Linked DNA regions of Homo sapiens: region 1 is linked to region 2. Evidence: promoter capture Hi-C in 16 types of primary human blood cells and fetal thymus (Javierre and others, 2016). All regions are on one chromosome and are shown on one strand. The core of a region is centred on a gene start or on the middle of the fragment in contact, and the rest is flanking DNA. Distances in the headings are between cores, read along the strand shown. Region 1 holds the start of SPRED1 (sprouty related EVH1 domain containing 1). Region 2 overlaps CDIN1 (CDAN1 interacting nuclease 1).

The links. The method cuts DNA at HindIII sites, captures the fragments that hold promoters and counts their contacts. A CHiCAGO score of 5 or more calls a contact.
Region 1: the fragment with the promoter of SPRED1 here is called in contact with a fragment that was not itself captured in region 2 in 1 of 17 cell types (total B cells); the score reaches 5.1 in total B cells.

Annotation. Positions count from the first base shown.
Region 1 is chr15:38,251,397-38,254,852 of GRCh38, forward strand. SPRED1 (sprouty related EVH1 domain containing 1) reads left to right here and starts at 1,440. Exons shown (of 7, transcript NM_152594.3): 1 at 1,440-1,821. The coding sequence starts at 1,790. RefSeq lists silencers at 790-1,089, 1,100-1,149, 1,250-1,349, 1,530-1,589, 1,600-1,649 and 1 more. The HindIII fragment of the contact is 4,356 bases long and covers 1-1,912 here.
Region 2 is chr15:36,581,733-36,584,957 of GRCh38, forward strand. The region is part of intron 1 of CDIN1 (CDAN1 interacting nuclease 1); the gene reads left to right. Among named protein-coding and RNA genes, the nearest start is that of CDIN1, 3.7 kb to the left of the region's middle. The HindIII fragment of the contact is 3,124 bases long and covers 307-3,225 here.

The DNA of each region.
Region 1 (3,456 bases), core at 190-2,689, 1.7 Mb after region 2:
ATTAACAATCACTCCAGCTTTCCGAGATGAATGCCCTGATAGCATACCCCTTGCGCAGTAAGAATCCAGGCAGCGAGGCGAGGTGTTAAAACACACATACATTCTCATATTCTCTCTCTCTCTCTCTCACACACACACACACACACACACACACACACATACACTTCGTGCATGCAGCTAGGGGACTGCAGCAGTGCAACCAGGGGGACAGCAGGAGGAGCTCTCTTTGCAGTCCCTGCTTCTAACCCCCACTAACTAAAGATGAACTCATGCCAGTTCCATTCTTTGCTCTGCAAAGAAAACACACACACACACACACACACACACACACACACACACACACACACGGCAGAAGAGAGTAGCCTCCAGATTTCCCCTCTGAGCACACTGTCTTTCTAGCCTCTTCGTTCAAGCAACCCGGATATTCCAAGCAGAGTAACGGGGAGTAACGCGCCACAACAATGCAACCTCCCTAGCAGCTCCCCTCGCAGCTCCCACCCCCGCCCCCTTTCGCGGCGTGCCAAGAGTTTGGAGCGCGCGCACGCACACCGAGCACGGTGCAGGGAGGATATCCCTCCGCCTCCCTCCCCCTTTCTCCGCTAAGTGGCTCGACAACGATTTGGGAAATGAAGGGAGGAGGGAACTACTTTCCTGAAACTTGCTATGCTGCACATGACTTCGAGTTGCAGTGATTCGCCCGGAGGCCGCGGCTTTTAGTCCTACCCACACACCCTCACAGCCTGGGCACCCCGCTCGGCAGCCCCACCCCGCGCCCGCTCTGGCCTCCGGGGAAAGCGGGCGGCCGGGAGAAGTCGCGAGGGACTACTTCGCCTCCTTCTCTCGCGGGCGCCCCCGGTTCGGGCAGCGGCTGCGGCGGCGGAAGGAGCGGGCGGCGTGAGCGCTTCCGCCGCCCCCCTCGCGGCTCCCCTCTCTCGGGCGTGAGGAGCTGGCCCGCTGAGCTGCTGGTGGGCACTGGCTGGCGGGGAACCTGCAGCCGCTCTTGTCCTCTCCCGCCGCTTCTCGGGATCCTGCCCCCCGGACCCGGGCCCGCCCGCTCTTCTCCGGCCGGGTGGGAACGATCGGTTTGCCTGCCCCTCGCCTCACACGCTCCCCGCCGCCCCCTCCACCCCCCTGAGGAGGAGTCCCGGCTGGAGCGTGTCTGGAGGAATCCGCCGCCGCGGGGCCCCTAGCCCTGCTCTGCCGGCGCCTGAGGACCGACCCAGACGCCGCCGGGGGTTGAGGGGCAGCCGGCGGCGAGGCGGGAGATGGTGGGGTGGGCTCCGGCAGGACCGCGCCGCCGCTGCCCGGAGCCTGGGCTCGGCACCCCCCCGCCGGCCCCCACCGAGCGGAGCTCTGCTTCCTCCTCGCCGCATCCCTGAGGGAAGCGCCGCCTCTGCTCCCGGGTTCTCCGCCCGCCGACTCCTTCCTGGCCGGACCCCGCTGCGCTCCACCCCAGTGGCTGGAGGAGCAGCTCTCCAGTCAGCCTTTGCAGCCCCTCTCTTTTTCCCTTTCCACCGGGCCTCCTCGGATCCCTTGGCTGGGCACTGAGGCGGGGGAAGAGGCTGGGGTCGCCACGGCGGAGGTTGCTGCCGCCACCCCCCTGCGGGGGTGGCCGGGGTTCCCGGCTGGGGGGGTACCGTTCTGGGTGAGGCATCCACCATGGTGAGGCCCCTGTGCCGCTGCCCCCGCGCCCCCCCGGCCGCCGCTGCCTCCTGCCCCTCGGTGCTGCTGTTGCTCCCCCGCCTGCTGTTGCTCCTCCATCTCCAGATCGGATCACGGTGAGGGAAAGATGAGCGAGGAGACGGCGACTTCTGACAACGAGTAAGCGCCTCATTGATCTCGATTGCTAATCCCCCTCCCCCTATCCGCCCTCGGCTCTCCCCCAGACCCATCCGAAACTTGGGTGCCGGAAAGCTTGCGACCCTGGAGAGTTCGGTGCATCTTCTGGAGATAGCTGATTTCTTTAGCCATTTTTAGTGGCAGCACCCCTCCCCATCCTCCCACATTTAGCTGCTTTCTTTTGGGGTAGGGGATTAAGTGTTGGGAGAGGATGGCAATTGTACGTCTATGAGAGGGAATAATGTGGATGGATGGAAGTGGAGTAGAAACTACCCCTTTGCCTGTGAGACCCCTGTCCCGTCCTTTTTCACTCACATACCAGTCACCATACCTTCAGTATCCATCCTACTTCCTTTATAGCTGTTTCACTTGGAAACTAATGTGTGGGAGCACCTCCTGCAGCAAACTGCTCTTGAATCTTAATTCGATGAGTCAGTGACTCTTAAATACCGATTAAGCCTTCACCCTCTCCCCCCTCCCCCTTTTAAACTTATGACCTGTAAGATTCTTGTAAAAAATAGGGTTAGGGAAACATTTTTAGAATTTAATAGGATTAAGGACACCTGGAGTGTGGGCGATGTTGAGCTAGAGTTTACCTTTGTGAATATTGGACGTGTCTTCAGGAACGGAGAAGAATTTTGAATGCTAATTTTTACCTTTCAGCTATGTGAAAACACATGATTTACGTTGATGTAACCGAATTTACATTGCTGAATATGTTGGTGATTTCATTAACTTTTAGAGCATTCCGGTTTAAGTTTTAGCTTATTTGGGCTTTCTCCTTGCTTTCCAAACGAAATACTTCGTCTTTTAAATGTTTTGCTTTAACGTGACAGCTGCGTGGAGAAATAATGGTTGGCAACACTTTTCTATTGAGAAGGGATTTAATTCCAAGCAGAATATTAGCATCCGTTTTCTTGTAATTAAGTTCAACTTTTGTTTATCTTCGGAGGGTTGGAAAGAGTTAAGTGAGTTAGGACTTAGTCATTTGGATGCATTCCTTTAAATACAGTGCATTACTAAAGTCAGACCTTTTTGAAATAACTTTTTAAAGTCTGTACCGAGTCCTGTTTAACGTAAAATAGCTAGAGAAAGGCCAAACAACATTTCCTCCTCCCTTACTCCCTCCCCACCCCAAAACACACGCTTCTGCTGAGCGGGTGTAGAAGGAGGTACATTGCTGCAGTGTCAGTGCAGTGTAGAAGCAGAAGTGGCAGCCATGTTCTGTCTCTTTTTGTGAATCGCCCTCATTTGCATAGCACACTCTTCATTCATAAAAAAAATAATTAAACATCCATCACCTTGGACATCTTGAAAGGATTTCCCAAGAAAAAAAATTCGCGGCTTATTTGTCTGTGTGTAGATTTTTGAGTTCAGAAGGTAAGAAGAATGTGAAATTTTAGGTTAAATTTAAAAACATACGCACACACAAACAACTACCCCTGTTCTGAGAATGTTGACACAGTTATGTGGGAAATATCAGTTCGGGGAGGTGCTGGGATCACGTGATCGCCTCCATTCATAAAATACCTGGCTGTCCATTCAGAGTGCAGTACAGTCTCTCCCTGCCTTCTGCAGATTAGACCTACTTTGAGGGAGATCAAGAAGTCTATCTCA
Region 2 (3,225 bases), core at 619-3,118:
GCTGGGTGTGGTGGCATGTGCCTTTAGACCCAGCTACTCAGCTACTCCTGAGGCTGAGGTGGGTGAATCACCACATCAAGGTGATTGTTACCTTGTTGCATTACAATCCATTGGCCTATTTTGAACTTGAATGGATCTTTTACCCATGCCTGATTTGTTATCATCGTGCATTATTCCTTTGTAAAATGTTGCTTGTGAGTTGTGCAGATCTTACAAATGTCACCTTTCATTATACAATATCAAAAAATTACATTTGTTAATATCATCTCTAATCTCATCAGAAGTCTGTAAGATTTGAAGCTGTCAAGCTTGTGGTGATGGATATGAGCATTCCAGTATTTGAATTTTCCCTTGAAAGCTCAAATTTTATCATTGGCAACAAATGCTATTAGTTGTTTTCCTTGAAATGACAGGCTCACATTGTTTATTTTTGAGAAAGTGTCTGCCAGATACTTAAATCTGAATAATATACTTTGTTATCATTAATTCAAGTAAAAATGGTGTTCCCTAGAAAAAGTAGCTAGTTCAGCTCTCAAACAGTCATACAAGTGCTTTCCTGGGAGGCAACCATCATACTTTGATATGAAGTATATGTGCTTTGTATTTACTCTAGTCATACAGAATGTTAAAAGGTTGTGTATTCAAGGGTTGAGATTTAATGCAATTAATAAGAGAATATTCTTTAGTGAAAGTCTTGTTTTGTTTTGTTTTTCCTGCACGTGTGTGGCAGTGAATACAGTGACTACTAGTACAGTTATGATGCCTATGATTTGTGCCTTGTTTTATGCTCAGGAGCTGGCAGTTTTACTCACCATTGTTTTTGTACCATAAGTCCAAATGTGAATACAGCGCAAAAGGAAAATACTATCTTGCTATTTTTATAAAAATAGTCGTGTTGACCCTGTAGACCTGTGAGAGGGTCTCAGGGACTCCAAGTCCACAGCCACACTTAGACAATCACTAGCTAATTCAAATCAAAGCATAATTATGTTTTCAAGGATTTTGATGTATACTGACAAATTTAAAAAAATTGTACTAGTCCTTTTACTAGCAGAGCGTGAGAGTCTCTGTCTCTGCAACTTTTCCAGTATTGAGAAGAGTCATTATTTAATCTTTAATATGTTCGATCAAGAATGACATCTTGTAGTTAGCATTTTAAAAATTATTATAGGTTGTACCTTTTTCCAAATTTTTTTGACCACTTAATTTTCCTTTGAATTACCTGTTTGGTATCCTTTGCCTAATTTTCTGTTGGCATGTCTGTTGTTATTGTTTATTGATTTATTACTTATTGATCTGCATATGTTCAGGATGCTGGTCCTATATATGTCATATTTGTTGCATAAATTTTCTCAGTTGTTTGATTTTAAATATTGTTCTGCTTTTGATATGGTTAACTTTTAAATGTATGCTTTTTTTTTCTGACATTTTTGCCTTTATACTTAGGAAGTTCTTTTCTGTCCTAATATATGAAAGAAAAAAATATTTCACCTAAATTTTCTTTTAGATTCTTTATGGCTTTGTTTTTTATTCTTAATTTTTAAATCTTTCTGGCTGAAATTTATTTTAGTAAATGCTGAGAGGTGAAGATGTAGCTTAATTTTTTCTCCAGCTTAATTTTTCCTCTTACTGTGACTTCTGGGGTAGCCTCACTTCTTCATGGCTTGTTTTGACTGAAGTTACAAAATTATGTTTTTTCAAGTCACTGTGTTTTACGTGGTCTCAGAATCCTTCACTTTAAAATGAAGGAGTAGGACTTTGTGATCTGTAATATCTTACAACTCCAAAATTCACCCTCATTCTATTTTCGTTTCTACAGTTTTACCATACAGTAAGTCATCATTTAATGTCTTCGGTAGGGCTTTGGAGACTGCAACTTTAAGTGAAACAATGTATAATGAGAGCAATTTTACCATATGCTAATTGTTATAAACAAGAATTAAGTTCCTATAGCATATTTCTGGTCATAATAACATCACCAAACTTCTAAATAAAGACCCAAGGCTGGGCACTGTGGCTCAAGCCTGTAATCCCGGCACTTTGGGAGGCTGAGGCGGGCAGATCACGAGGTCAGGAGATCGAGACCATCCTGGCTAACACAGTGAAACCCCGTCTCTACTAAAAATACAGAAAATTAGCTGGGCACGGTGGCGGGCGCCTGTAGTCCCAGCTACTCAGGAGACTGAGGCAGGAGAATGGCATGAACCTGGGAGGCAGAGCTTGCAGTGAGCTGAGATGGCGCCACTGCACTCCAGCCTGGGTGACAGAGCAACACTCCGTCTCAAAAAAACCATAAAAAATAAAATAAAGACCCAAAACACATCTAATATTAAACATTGAAATTAATGTGAGCCTAAACAAGTAAGATAATTATTTACCCAATTTTTGGTGAATCAGTGAGTGATGGTGGTCATAGTGGTGGTGGATTAAATCTAAGAGTATGTGTTTGCAAAGTGAAATTTGTGAGAAGCACCTCTTACCACCATGTATTCAAAAGCAAACAATAGCCTGTTCAACAGAGCGAGACCCTGTCTCTTCAAAAAAATTTAAAAATTAGCCAGGTGTGGTGGTACATGCTTGTAGTTCCAGCAACTCAGGATGCTAAGGTGAGAAGATTGCTTAAGCCTGGGAGTTTGAGGCTGCAGTGAGTTAGGAACGTGCCACTGCAGTCCAGCCTGAGCCACAACAGTTAGACTCTGTCTCTAAAAACAAAAAACAAAAAGCAAACAATAACAAATGTGGTGAGCTTGCTGAGCACTTGTGTACTGCATCTTTATTGTCATGCGTTTGTATGATTATCATAGATTTATGAATTTTTATTTTACAGTAATTTGTATTCATTCATTTATTCACTTATTCATTCATTTATTTACCAACCCGCTTATTCCAGTTTAGGATTCTGAGTGGCCTCTGGCAGCTCAGGCTGCAAGGTATGAAGCCATCCCAGCACGGGACACGCTCACACACACTCCCATACTCACTCACACTGGGGCTATTTAGACATGCCAGTTCTGCAGACACGTACATCATTGAGATGTGGAAGGAAACCAGAGTACTGGGAGAAAGTTCACGCAGACGTCAGGAGAACATGCAAACTCCACACAGACAGTGGCCCCAGCCAGGAAACAATTTTTAAAAATACTCATCAACTTTATAACAAAATAATGTTGAACAAAATAACGTTATTTGAAGACTTTCTGTAATGGGCCCTTTGGCACCTGAAAC